5 separate regions of the Homo sapiens genome follow, and all the other regions are linked to region 5. The links are contacts of gene promoters, found by promoter capture Hi-C in human tissues and cell types (Jung and others, 2019). All regions are on one chromosome and are shown on one strand. The core of a region is centred on a gene start or on the middle of the fragment in contact, and the rest is flanking DNA. Distances in the headings are between cores, read along the strand shown. Region 1 overlaps BIN3 (bridging integrator 3). Region 2 overlaps CCAR2 (cell cycle and apoptosis regulator 2). Region 3 overlaps PPP3CC (protein phosphatase 3 catalytic subunit gamma). Region 4 overlaps PPP3CC (protein phosphatase 3 catalytic subunit gamma). Region 5 holds the start of PHYHIP (phytanoyl-CoA 2-hydroxylase interacting protein).

The links. Contacts are between HindIII fragments. The study calls those that stand out against the background at their distance.
Region 1: a contact is called between a fragment that was not itself captured here and the fragment with the promoter of PHYHIP in region 5, in 1 of the 25 tissues and cell types used here (dorsolateral prefrontal cortex).
Region 2: a contact is called between a fragment that was not itself captured here and the fragment with the promoter of PHYHIP in region 5, in 5 of the 25 tissues and cell types used here (H1 embryonic stem cells, bladder, dorsolateral prefrontal cortex and 2 more).
Region 3: a fragment that was not itself captured here is called in contact with the fragment with the promoter of PHYHIP in region 5 in 1 of the 25 tissues and cell types used here (hippocampus).
Region 4: a fragment that was not itself captured here is called in contact with the fragment with the promoter of PHYHIP in region 5 in 1 of the 25 tissues and cell types used here (liver).

Annotation. Positions count from the first base shown.
Region 1 is chr8:22,653,571-22,656,270 of GRCh38, reverse strand. The region is part of intron 1 of BIN3 (bridging integrator 3); the gene reads left to right. Among named protein-coding and RNA genes, the nearest start is that of BIN3-IT1, 13 kb to the right of the region's middle. The HindIII fragment of the contact is 8,304 bases long and covers 1-2,700 here.
Region 2 is chr8:22,613,704-22,616,403 of GRCh38, reverse strand. CCAR2 (cell cycle and apoptosis regulator 2) reads right to left here. Exons shown (of 21, transcript NM_001393997.1): 9 at 2,090-2,312; 10 at 1,901-2,014; 11 at 1,403-1,566; 12 at 808-979; 13 at 492-722; 14 at 156-392. Among named protein-coding and RNA genes, the nearest start is that of CCAR2, 10 kb to the right of the region's middle. The HindIII fragment of the contact is 7,299 bases long and covers 1-2,700 here.
Region 3 is chr8:22,536,639-22,539,338 of GRCh38, reverse strand. All of the region lies in intron 12 of PPP3CC (protein phosphatase 3 catalytic subunit gamma), which reads right to left. All of the region lies in intron 1 of LOC124901905 (a long non-coding RNA gene), which reads left to right. Among named protein-coding and RNA genes, the nearest start is that of SORBS3, 14 kb to the left of the region's middle. The HindIII fragment of the contact is 5,260 bases long and covers 1-2,700 here.
Region 4 is chr8:22,515,525-22,518,224 of GRCh38, reverse strand. The region is part of intron 6 of PPP3CC (protein phosphatase 3 catalytic subunit gamma); the gene reads right to left. All of the region lies in intron 1 of LOC124901905 (a long non-coding RNA gene), which reads left to right. Among named protein-coding and RNA genes, the nearest start is that of SORBS3, 35 kb to the left of the region's middle. The HindIII fragment of the contact is 3,233 bases long and covers 1-2,700 here.
Region 5 is chr8:22,230,823-22,233,522 of GRCh38, reverse strand. It overlaps PHYHIP (phytanoyl-CoA 2-hydroxylase interacting protein), which reads left to right and starts at 1,424. Exons shown (of 5, transcript NM_014759.5): 1 at 1,424-1,727. RefSeq lists an enhancer at 1,047-1,794. The HindIII fragment of the contact is 22,356 bases long and covers 1-2,700 here.

The DNA of each region.
Region 1 (2,700 bases), core at 172-2,671, 420 kb before region 5:
TAACGAAATAAATGTAGAGGAGATGGATATGAAAAAAAAAAAAAAAACCCTTAAGACCAAGGGAGATAAAAAGGCTTGAATGAATGAAAAGAAATATGGCCCTGAATGAGCAAACCAAAAATAGGATCTTCAAAAGTTAATCTATAAATATATTGCACTTCTGGTAATATCCTTATCAGGGGTTTTTAGGTGTGGGGGTGAGAGCACACAGCTAGTGAAATTTATCTTGAATAATTAAAACAGCCAAGAAATTACCTGGAAAAAAATTTTTAATGAGAAGGGATTTGCTTTGCTAAGTATCAGGAACTTTTATACATCTAAATAAATCTGTGTTATTGGCAAAAGGGTAGATTACTCTGTGGTATGGAATAGTAGATGCATTTAATGCTGATAAAATAACTTTTCAAAGGTGGAATTTTTAAAAACTATGTTAAAACAATGGACTAGTCATACACTCAAACTCTAAATGCAGCAAAGATTTAAATATAAAAAATAAACCACTAAAATTCACGTGGAAATGCAAGGGACACACAATAGTCAAAATGATCTTGACAAAGAACAAAGCTGGAGAACTCACACTCCCCAGTCTTAATACTACAAAGCTACAGTAATGAAGGTTGTGTGGTGCTGTTATCAAGATGGACATGTAGATGAATGGAATAGAATTGAAATAAACCCTTACATATATGGACAATTGATTTGTAACAAAGATGCCAGAACAGTTCAGCGGAAAAAGAATAATCTTCAACAAACAGTGCTGGGACAAATGGATAGCCACTTGCCAAGGAATGAAGTTGGACCCCTACCTCACACCATATTTAAAAATTAACTCAAAATGGATCAATGACCTAAATGTAAGAGCTAAACTATAAAACTCTTAGAAGAAAAGACAAGAGTAAATCTTCATGACCTTGGATTTGTCAAAGGATTCTTACATATGACACCAAAAGCATGAACAACAAAAGAAAAAACAGATAAATTGGACTTCATCAAAATTTAAAACTTTCTGCTTCAAAGGACACCATTAAGAAAGTGGAAACCCAGCCCATGGATGAGAGAAAATATTTCTGATTATGGGCTAATACCCAGAATATATAAAGAACTCTTACAACTCAACAACAATAATAATAAAAGTTTTAGAATGAGCAAAGGATTTGAATAGATGTTTCTCCAAAGATATACAAATGAACACATGAAAAGACGCTTAACGTCATTAGTCATTAGAGAAATGCACATCAGAAATACTACCTCATACCCACTAGGATGGCTAAAATGAAAAAGACAGTGTTGGCAAGGATGTGGAGAAATTGGAACCCTTATATACCACTGGTGGGAATGTAAAATGATACAATTACTTTGGAAAACAGTCTGGCACATCCTCAAAAGGTTAAACATAGAGTGACCATATGACCCAGCAGTTTTGCTCCTAGATATATGCCCAAGAGAAGTAACATATCCACACAAAATCTTGAACATAAATGTTTGTCACAGCATTCATTAATACCCAAAAAGGGAAAACAACCCAATTGTCCATCAAATGATAAGTGGATAAACAAAATATAAATCCATACACTGAACTAGTATTCAGTGATTAAAAAAATAAAAGGATGAAGTACTGATATATGCTATGACATGGATGACCTTCAAAAACATTTTGCTAAGTGAAGGAGGCTGACACAAAAGGCCACATACAAATATAATTCTACTTCTGTGCAATGTCCAGAAAAGGCAAATCCATAAAGAAGGCAAAGTAATGGTTGCCAGGGCTGGAGGAGGGGAGTTGTTTGCTAATAGGTGTGGGGTTTCTTTTTGGTGTGATGAAAATGTTCTGAAATTAGATAGCAGTGATTTTTGCACAATTCTGGGAATATACTAAAAACCCCAAATTGTACACTTTAAAAGGGTGAATGTTATGGTATGTTATTTAAAAATAAACCAGATTCTGAGTAAAGATGACAGATTGAATACATACATCTAATTTATCTCCCTCACAAATCCTACAAAAAGCACAGTAAAGCAGTTTTTTAAGGCATAAATCCATAGTTCAGGGAGAATAGAAGAGACATCAACAACAAAATTTGGGAATTAGGGTGCAGTTACATGAGGTAACTGACTTAGTTCCAAGAAAGTCAAGTCCCAAACTGGCGTTTGAGAAAACCAAGAGCCATCCCACCTTACATCCCAGAATTCTCAAAGGTTTGGGAGTTGGTACTAAGTACCTCTAGAAGTTAGGTGAAGCCAAGGGCTGAGATCAGGGTGATTGGTTGAAAACTATGAATAGTTTAGAGCCCTAACATCTCCCTAACTGCTTATCACTGGGAGACTGTCCCCACCCCACCCCACCCTAGCAGAAGAATGAAGAGTCCTACACCCCAACCCCCACCTCCAAAGAATTCTGTACCAGGGGACACAAAGGTGGATTTAAGGTGTGAAACTTACAAAGCTTCAGCCTCAGGGTCCCAACTTAAATGGACCTTTCCCAAGACCCTGGAAGGAACCCTAGGCATGCCTATGTTGTGGTAAACTGAAACATAAAGTGTTTACATTGCAGCGAGTTAGGAAAACCTCTGTCTTCATTCCTGCTTTTACTTCTTCATACTATCCCTCATGTCAGGCAATCCTGGGGTAGCCCAGGCTTTTTTGGGGGATGGAACTAAGGAAGGGTGAATTGGGAGTATACTGTTTTAACTGTACGTTGTA
Region 2 (2,700 bases), core at 1-2,500, 380 kb before region 5:
TAGGTGTGCTACTTACTAGCTGTGCGGCCTCAGTCCATGCCGAGCAAGGGTGCAGGGAATGAGCTAAGGCACAGGAAGCGCTCGGAACAGAGCCCGGGGTAAAGGTGCGCGGTCACGGTAAGCACTATGACAGCCCGAGGTGGCAGGGTACTCACCAGCGGGGCCTCTGACTCTGTAGCCGGGCCCTCATTCTGTGCCTCATCCTTGGGCTCCTTGACCACCTCCTCTTTGATGGCTTCTTCCTCCTTGGTGGCTTCTTCCTTGGCCGCCTCCTCCTTCTCAGGTTCAGGTGGGGACACGACCTTTTCAGGAAGGCTCAGTAGCATCTTATAAACTCTATAGCCAAAATCCCTCTGGAGCATCTCCAGAAACAGCTCGGCCAGCACCATCACCTGATGGGGAGGTGGGAGGGTCCATGAGCATCAGGAAGAAAGACTGCTTCAGGCCCACAAATCCCAGCCCACAGCCTCCCCAAGACTCTTGACACCTGCCTCAAAAGAGATCCTTTCCTTTGGCCTCCGATCCTCCACAATCCCATGGAGGGACAGGTTTACACAGCCAGGGCGTGCGATGACAGCAGGTTCTAGGGGGGGTGGAGGGGCCTCTGGGAGATCAGTGTCCGTTTCCTGCTGTGTGGTGGCCTCTGGAGTTTCTGCGTTCCGTCTAGAAGTGTCTGCTGCTTGCTCCAAGGCATCAGGTGCCTGTTCAGTAGGCTCCGTTTCCTGTGACAACAGCTGAAATGAGACCCTCTGGGTCCCGGGATTAGGCCACCTATATCCCCCGCTGCTGGCTAAGGCACAGCCTTACCCCTTGTGCCTCCTGGGTTGGGGGAGCTGCCTCTGCAGCTTTCTGCTGGCACAGGGCCTCCCACTCCTCCAAAGTAGGCATGATGGTCCAGACATCCGGCAGGTACACCACCACTGTCTGAAGCCGCCGGGGGGGTCCCGGCTGCAGGTACTGAAACTCGGCAAAGCGCCACCTGCACATGGCAAAAGGAGGTACTAACTTCTTTAGTGACAACTCCACGCAGACACCACGTTCACAGGCAAGGGCTTCAGTTTCCAGTCAGCACTCAATGAGCACACACTGCGAACCAAGCTTTGAAGACACAACAGGAAAGCTACAGACCAAGTCCTCAAGAAATGATCAGTCAGTGGGGAGGCCGCAACCACACAAGCACCCTACAAGGTGCAAGGACAACTCCAGGGAGTCTCAAGTGCAGCCTGGTGGCTCAGCCAGATTTTGGCATACACCCCACCCTACCCTGAGGCACCAGAGGGGGAAGGAACGGGACTAGGGGGCAGAGAGCTAACCAGCAGAAAGGGGCAGGGACCGGGCCTTCCCAACAAAACCTCCCCAACCTGGTGCGTTGGTGCAGCTGAGGCTCAGGAAGCCCACTCACCACTTGGTACAGCCGCTCAAATCAATGCCAGTCTGGGCCTGCGCACAGCGGATGGCGGTACGCACCAGCACCTGCGGGTCAGCCTGGGGGTCGAGGCCATCCAGGGAAGGAGACCATTCACCCCCAACCAGCACTGCCTCCTCTTCTTTCCTGCCCAGCAAAAACTGCAAGAAGAGATCAGGGATACAAAACAAAAAACTACATTACCTGGGTCTCCCACTGCAGGGCAAGGCTGCCACCCATCAGGATGAAGGCAGCCGGAAGTGGGGAAGTCCACCACACAGTGAGGTCTCTATCTGCAAACATGAACCAGCCACCTCGCTCTCTCTGACTAGTCGTAACAGCTCTGAGCTGCACCTTCCTCCTGGGTGAAATGAGGGGTGTTCGGCTCTGAGATGCCTCGTTTTATGCATTCAGGAACAGGAGCCGAACACTCAAAACATGACAGGTTGTGCACATTACCCGTGAATGCATCTCCTCCTGCTCTCCAGCTCTTACCTTAATCTGCTTCAGAGGATGCTCTGGCGTCTCCCTTGGCTCAGCCATGTCATCCACAAAGAGCATGCAACAACGATACAATTCCTCCAACCCCGGGGAAGAGAGCAGCAGTACCTGTGCAGGAGGAGACACTCAGAGCTGCCTTCAGCCTCCAGAAATCAGATAAGTGAGAGACGCCTGTCAGCTTACCTTCGAACTATAAGCGGGGTCACTGTCTGCAGTGATGGGCTCAGCACCAGCGTCTGGAGCTGCCTCCTTTTCAGAAGAGACCTGGATCCGGCTTGGATGATGGAGGGAAAAGGGCTGGCTCAGGGGGAAGGCTGATAGCCAACTCAGATGCACGGACAGAAAATCTGAGGGGACCAGGAGGCTGCGGTAACGGCGCTGGAGTTCTAGGAAGTCACAGATGGGGCTACAGGAAGACAGCAAGGGAATCCAGACTGAGCAAAGACTAAAACATTCGAAATGAAACCATCAAAGATTTGAAAAAATGGGCGAATTTTTTTTCAGTCTGAGAACTTTTGAAGTAAGGCACCTCTCAAGGAAGCTAGATCAGATCTGACCACTTAATTTACAAACTCTAGATGGCAAAAGTCAAACTGGGAAAGGGAAAAAAGAAAACACTTATAACACATGACAGAGAAATGGGTCATTGCCTTAATATAAAGGAACTCACAAATCAGTAACAAAAAGTTCAAAAGCCTAAAACGGAAAATTGACATCAATAGGTTCTTAAGAGAAATACATAAGAATTAGAGGCCAGGAAAATATGCTCAATCTCACTTACAATTAAAGAAATG
Region 3 (2,700 bases), core at 64-2,563, 310 kb before region 5:
CAACTAGTTAGAGAAGCGAGAAGATTATTGCGAGAGACTCAATTGGGGTGGGAGGAATATGGGGTGGGGGAGAGTTTCTAATATTTTTAACATTTCAGGTGCCATGGAACATTGCTCTTTTCATTTTAGGTAGCCAACTGCTACTTTATATCTTGATATCCACGTATCGAAACAACATGTAGAATCAAATAGTTTGACATCACAACAATCCTTAGTTTGTAAAATATCTCAGGTGATATTAAATGAGCTACTGCTGGGTCCTATTCAAAAAGCTTATTTACAACTACATCTTACTGCTCTCAAGTGACTTATTTGGAGTCCAACTGCCCTATTAATTACTTCATTTAAAAAAAAAAGAGTGGCCTTTGAACAGCAGACTGGCATTTGGAAGGAGAGAAAAATAGGTTCCATGTGAAGGGTTATTTCTTGTCCAGGAGTGGAGTACAAAGCTAACAAAAGCATAGAACTATTGAATTCCTAATGCAAATGTGTGTACCCATCTGCTATAAAAATATAGCAGAGGCTAATGTTTCCAATCCATATGGCTTCCATACAGTGTTCAAGAGAGTTGGCCAGTAACTAAGAAAGCCCTCTTCTTTCTTAGCAATGGAAAAGGAAGCAACTTAAAAATTAGTACCAACAGGTAAACTTCCTTGCATCTCCTTTCTCAGACAGTAAAAACGCTAATATATGAAAAGGTACAGGGTGCCACAAGAAAGATCCTATTAGGAGAACCCTGTCAGTTACTCCAGTACCAATTTGCCAAAAGAAGGCAGTGAAGAATAATGAGCAGTAACAGTTTGCTGCTATTCCCAAGGCTTTATATATCAATATGAGAAGAGAAACTGAAAGAACTACATTAACTACCTAATGGAATGTGAAAAATGGATAACTGAAATCTACTTATGAAGTGCTTTCATTTGTCAACCATAGGCAGGCATGTATTAAATCACTGTCACACCCTCTCTAATCTCCTTAAGTAGAACAAATACCCTTGACAAGAAAGCTACAGTGCCTTCTCACAGCACATCACTGATGTAACTGTTAGGAAGTGGGAGAACAAAGCATTGCTGAAACTCTACACTGAGTGTTGGTCTAATTAGAGCTTAAAAGCTACACGGTAAAATGTGTATGATATTACCTTGTTTGGGGCCCTCCCAGAATTGCTATTCACATTGGGTATAAAGATAGCAGCCTGCAGTAAGGGCCATTATAAGAAACAGTCATATCAAATGACCCGAACTTTTGTTTTCCTTTTTAACATCTTAACTGAAATAGAATTCATATACCACAAAACTCACTTGTTTAAAGTATACAAGTCAATGGTTTTAATATAGTAGAGCTGTGCAACCATCACCACAATCTGTGCTTAGAATATTTTCATTGCCCCAATGAGAAATCCCCCACTTATTAGCACTCACTTCCCATTTCCTTCCCTCACCTCTTCCCCTTAATCCTGGTTGAACACGAATCTACTTTCTCTCTAGATTGGTCTGTTCTGGACATTTCAAATGAGTGGCATCATATAATATGTGGTCTGTAGTGACTGACTTCTTTCACTTAGCATAATGTTTTCAAGGTTCAGTCATGTTGACATGTATACCTGCATTTAATTCCTTTTTATGGCTGAATAGTATTCCATTGCGTTTACCACATTTTGTTTATCCAGTTTATGGACAATTGCTTTTTTCTGCTTTTTGGCTATTATGTTGAATGCCATTTATGAACATTTGTGTACAAGTTTTTGCGAGGACATATTTTCATTTCTTTGTGGGGTATGTAGCTATGACTGGAATTGCTGAGTAATAAGTCAATTCTATGTTTAATCATTTGAAGACCTGTCAGAATGTTTTCCAAAGCAGCTGTACCATTTTACATTTCCACCAGCAGTGTTAAGAAGGTCCCAATTTCTCCACATTCTCATCAACACTTCTTATTAACTGCTGTCTTTTCACAGCCATCCTACTGACTGTGAAGTGGTATCCCATTGTGGTTTTGATTAGCATTTTCTGAATGTCTAATGATGTCAAACATCATTTCATGTGCCATTTGTATGTCTTCATGGGAAAAATGTCAATTCAATTCTTTACCCATTTTTAACTGGGTTGTCTTCTTATTCAGTTGTAAGAGTATATTTTCTAGATACCAATCTCTTAGGAGATATATGATTTGAAAACATTTTCAACCATTCTGTGGGATGTCTTTTCATTTTCTTGATAGTACCATTTGCAGTACAGAGTTTTTAATTTTGATGTAGTCCAATTTATAACTGATCTGTTTTAATCTGATGGTCTTTGTGAATCTTGTCCTGTCCTTGGCTTTCCCCACTATTTTGGCTACTGGGATGCTTAGAGTCAAATTTGTGGCTATTGGCTTTATTTTTATTTACCTTTGTGCTTCAATTTCCAAGCATATTTATTTTACTCCACTATGTTTCATGTATACTGTAACTCACGCCAATCCCTCTTAGATCAAGGTGAGACATACATGAATGTATGTTACATGGCCATATGGGATACTGTTGGTTGAAAGCTCTCCAAGTTAAGTTATATGAACAATAAAAGGTCTTTTTTAGTTAATGCTCCAGTTAGCCAATGAGCTGGTGGAACTGAGACTCCAATGTGAAAATAACAAAATAAACTCACTTCCTGTGAATCAATAAGAATAAGAAACTCTAAAAAGTTGGCTCCAACTTTACCT
Region 4 (2,700 bases), core at 51-2,550, 280 kb before region 5:
CTGGGCATGGCGGTACATCCTGTAGTCCCAGCTACTCAGGAGGCTGAGGCAGGAGGACTGCTTGAGCCCAGGAGTTCAAGGTTGCAGTGAGGTATCATTGTGCCACTGCATTGAGCCTGGGTGACAGAGCAAAACATCCTATCTAAAAAAAAAAAAACCTCAAGATAAATGAAAACAAAAATATACATATCAAAATGTATGGGATGCAGCAAAAGCAGTACCTACAGGAAAGTTTATAGTAATAAATGCCGATTTAAAAAACAAAAAAGATCTGAATTAAACAACCTTATTTTACACTTCAAGAAACTAGAAAAAGGAGAATCAAATAAGCCCAAAGTAAGCAGAAGAAAGGAAAGTTTAGGGCAGAAATGAATCAAATAGAGAATAGAAAAACAACAGAAAAAAGTCAACAAAACTAAGAGTTGGTTTTTGAAAAACTAAACAAAATTGACAAACCCTTAGCAAGACTAAGAAAAAAAGAGATACTCAAATAAATAAAACAAAAAATGAAAGAGGAGACATTACAATAGATGCCTCAGAAATAAAAGGGATCATAACGGACTATTACGAATAATCACACACCAAAACACTGGAAAACCCAGAAGAAATGGATAGAGTCTGGAAATATACAACCTGCCAAAACTGAATCATGAAGAAATAGAAAGCCCAAACAGACCAATAGCAAATATGGAGATGGAATCAGTAATCAAACAGCTCTCAACAAAGAAAAGCACAGGACCAGATGGTTTCATGGGTGAATTCTATTAATCATTAAAAAAAAGAATTAATACCAATCTTTCTTAAACCTTCCAAAAAATAGAAGAGAGAATTCTTCCAAACTCACATTATGAGGCCAGCATCACTCTGATACCAAAGCCAAAGACACCAGAAGAAAGAAAAGTACAGGTGAGTATCTCTGATGAACATAGATTTTTAAATCCTCCATAAAACACTAGAAAGCCAAACTCAACAACATACTAAAAGTATTATATACTGTGGCTAAATGGGATTTATCCCTGGGATAAAAGAAGGCAGAGTATCACTTTGTTCAGCCTCAGCTGGGAACATGTGTGCTGGGTGAGTCAAATTTTTTATCTCATTATTCCCAGTAGCTACATTCTATAATGTTGCTGCAAAAACAGAATTAGCAAATAATGAAACACTACTGCTAAGGGAAATACAGGGTGAAGTTCCTGTGAGGCTCCGGTCATAACATTTTCACCCACCAATTAATATATAACCTTGTTTCAGATGTGTTTCTGTGTAATAATACTTTAGGTCATTTACACTGTTGATTCATTAACATTGAACTCATGGCCAAAACCACCATAACTCATGCCTAAACAAAGCTTATATCTAACACTCGCATATTTTCTCTGTAAGACATACCACAGCCTTTTTGTGCTTAGGGACCCTAGACAGCAGCACTTCAGCACTACACTTGGTGGCCATTCTAAACAGTGAAATCACTCATGAAAAGCACAAAAACATAAAACATCTTTCACTAAATAAAACTCAAAAGAATGCCTGTTTACAACATGAGGGCTGCAAAAAGAAGGTAGGGCATCATTTTGTTCAACCTCAGCTAGGAACATGTGAGTGAGGTGACTCAAATTTTTTGTTGCATTGCACACTACATTCCCATGAATGATTATGAAACCTCTGTAAGTACTGATTTGGGTGTTACAAATACATCTTAGTAAGTGGGGGAATTCACAAATATGAAATCCACAAGTAATGAGAATCAATTATATATCTACAGGATTAAGTTTTAGAAGTAGAATTTCTGGATCAAAGGCCATGTACAAATACCTTTGAAAGATATTGCCAAGTTGATGTCCACAGAAATTGTACCAATTTCTATTCTGACAACAATGAATATGTATTATGCTCTTTATTTTAAGCAATGTAAAAAGAAATAAAAGTTAAATGATTTCATCACATTAGTCACTGGAAAAGTTGGCATGGAGGAATGAAAAATGGTTGTTGGCTGGGTGGGGCTCATCCCTGTAATCCCAGCACTTTGGGAGGCCAAGTAGGGAGGGTCACTTGAGTCTAGGACTTCAAGACCAGCCTGGGCAAAACAGCCAAGACCTTGTTTCTACAGAAAATAAAAAAAGCAGCTGGGCATGGTGGCACATGCCCATAGTTCCAGCTACTCAGGAGGCTGAGGCAAGAGGACTGCTTGAGTCCAGAAGGTTGAGGCTGTAGTGAGCTGTTATGGTGCCACTGCACTCCAGCCCGGGTAACAAAGAGAGACCTTGTCTCAAAATAAAATAAAATAAAATAAAATAAAATAAAATAAAATAAAGAAGAAGAAAGAAAAAAAGACTTTTTACTATCCATCTGACAAGAGATTAATAACCAGAATATGTAAGGAGCTCAAACAATTCAATAGGAAAAATCCAATAATCCAATTTAAAAATGAGCAAAATATCTGAATAGACATTTCTTAAAAGGAGACATAAAATGGCAAACAGGTATATGAAAAGGTATTCAATATCACCGATCATCAGAGAAATGCAAATCAAAACTTCAATGAGATATCATCTCACCCAGTTAAAATGACTTTTATCCAAAAGACAGGCAATGACAAATGCTGGTGAGGATGTCGAGAAAAGGGAACCCTCATATCCTATTGGTGGGAATGTTTAGTACACTACTATGGAGAACAGTTTGGAGTTCCTCAAAAAAACTAAA
Region 5 (2,700 bases), core at 175-2,674:
TGTGAACTCTCACTTTCTGCTGCTGTTACCTCCTCTGACTTTTGCACTGAGGCCTGCCGCCTCAACTCCCTCTTGGTGAGTGTTTCTTAGGCTCAGCTCACACCTTCTCCTGCTCACCAAGACCTCACCCTGGGCCTGCCTGGTGTCAGCTGCCCCCGTGCCAATCCTCCCCACCCCAGCCGCACTCCTGCTTCCACAGCCTCCTCTGGCCTGCACCCTGCACGTGCCCTGGAGCCGCCCATTGTTCTTTCTCTGAATGAGTATCTGTGCCCTACGATTTAGTTGTGTGCTCCTCATTCTCTAATTGCATCCTCTAAATGGCCATCTTCTCTCCCGTAGAGGACTGTGGGCTCCTTGCAGGAAGATGCTGTCGATATGATGGGAACAAGAACAGTTCTGACATGTGACTGGCACTTCTGATGTGCCAGGCCCAGGGCTGGGCGATTTACCTAATTATTTCATTCCATGATGACAATAAACCTGTGTGATCCCACTTGACAGATGAAGAGAGGTTGAGTGGCTTGTCCAAGGTCCCCCAGCTGGGTAGCAGTAGAGCAGGGATTCTCAGCACATCCATCTGACTGTGAGCCTGTGCTTTTCACCACTGCGCAACCCTCTGTCCCTGCTTGCTGCTGGACTCACATTTCCTTGGATGTTCTTCCCGATGGCCTCCACGGAGTCTGCTTCTTGATGGCAGAACAGCCTCCTGCTGCCGTGAGAGCAGAATTACATTCTCTCCCCAAGATGCCCAGGGCCGGCTTCCTTTGTGCTCAGAGAGTGGGGTGGGCTGAGGACACTCAGAGCTTGGTGTGTTCTCCCACCCCCATTTTCTTACCCCTGTGCACCCTGCACTGTGCCACAGCCTCTCTCCCAGCCCCTTTTCCTGTGGACCCCCAAGCTGCCAGAGGGTTCTTGCCAGACCCACAGGGATCCCTGAGCTGCAGGTCTGCCATCTCTCTCTAGAGTTGGTAAGAAAATGGAACCACAGTTCACCAAAAGGCCCCAAGGAGAGGCTCCGGACTGAAGACAGCCACCCCAGCTTCACACCCCCCATCTGGACCTTTCCCCTCTACAGCCTCCCTCCCCTTCCCCCAATCAGAGTCTTTGCTTTGGGGCCCAAGCCCTTGGCTAAGCTCCACCCCTCTCCCAGCATCCTAAAGTTTGGGGGCTGCATTCAAGTCAGAGATTTCCAAGTAGGGGGTGTGTTGGAGGGACTTCTGAGGGCAGCTTGTCCTGGAAGAATGGGGGAAAGGCGGCGTGTGTTGCTGTCCCTGAGGACATCTGTGTAGCTCCCTGGGAGACCCTCTGCCCTTTCCCCCTCCCACCAGCCCGGCGAGCAGGGACCAAGCCTGCTTATTATCACCTGACGCTGCGCAGCCGCTGATCCCATTGGTGGAGGCAGATTCGGTCTGGCTCTCTCGTTCTTTCTCCCTTCTCTGCCTCTCTCTCCTCCACGCTGCTTTGATTTCGCTCTTGCCTCTCTTCTTGCGCTGCTCAGCTGGGAACATCGTCTCACCAGGGGCAGCAGCGACGCGCTGCACAGCCAGACAGGAGCTGGCTGCGGGGCATGGAAGCAGCCTCCTTGGCAGCCGGGAGAGGAGCAAGCGCACGCCACTGCCCGTGACCCAGGCGTCCGGCTGCTGTCCCCTGCCGGGGAGCTCATCCACGCAGAGGTCTCTCCCTGTCCTCCCTGCGAGCTTTTCCTCTGCAGAGCCCAGTGGAGCCAGGTGAGTACCCTTCCTCCCTGGAACCTGCTGCTGTTGATCCTGAGTAGCCGGGATCTGGGGGCTCTAGGGTCCTGCCACCACCCAGGGTGCCCACCTGGACTGCCAGGCCTGACGACCTTGTCCCCTCTCCCCCCCCCCGGCCAGGCCTTTGGCAAAGTGGTTAATGGCTGAATCCAGTCTCTGGGGCACCACAGTTAGTCACCCCGTGACCGTTCTGCTGCAGTCAGCGATGCCAACAGGGACAGCAGGGTGGGGGAAGCATTCCCTGTGGCAGGGTGGCTGTTTGAATGGGCATGGGGAAGGGGCACCGGTGTGCGCGGCGTGTGTGTGTGCGCGCTCGCGAGTTGGCTGGAGGCTTGCTGGCGCAGATAGGTCCGTCTGTCCGCAGTCATGCTCATGTGTGGGTTTTGAATGGTGTGAGGCATGTCTAGAAACATATCTTTCTGGCACACGTGAGGTACATGTGTGTGGGGGACTTATTTGAGTAGCCTGTGGGTGTGCGTGGGTGGGGACACTATGAGGCAGTATATTTAGGGGTAACCATGTCCCTTTTCATGTGTGTGGGAGTGTATGCAGACAGGGGCTTTCTATATGGGGAGGTGAGACCCAGAGCAGGATGGAGTGGGTAAAGAGAAGAAGGGGCAGAAACCATTGTCTGTGGGCAGAGCCACGTAGGTGCACAAACCTGTTGGCATGAAGGCTCAGGGCTGGCAGAGTGTGGCCAGAGGCAAACACATTTTCAAAGTCTGTCTTTGAGCCTGGAGATGATTCGAGAGAGAATACCAGACTTCGGGCGGGGGCTGCTGTGTGTATGAACACACATGTGTGTGCCGGCAGGCGTGTGGGTTGCGTGCCTTCTTGTGGAGGTGGCACACATGCATGTTGGTGCCTGTGGCATCCTCTTTTCCCCACATATGGCTTGTGAGGCGGTGTGCGTGGACGTGTGTGTGCGTGAGCCTGTGGACATGAACAT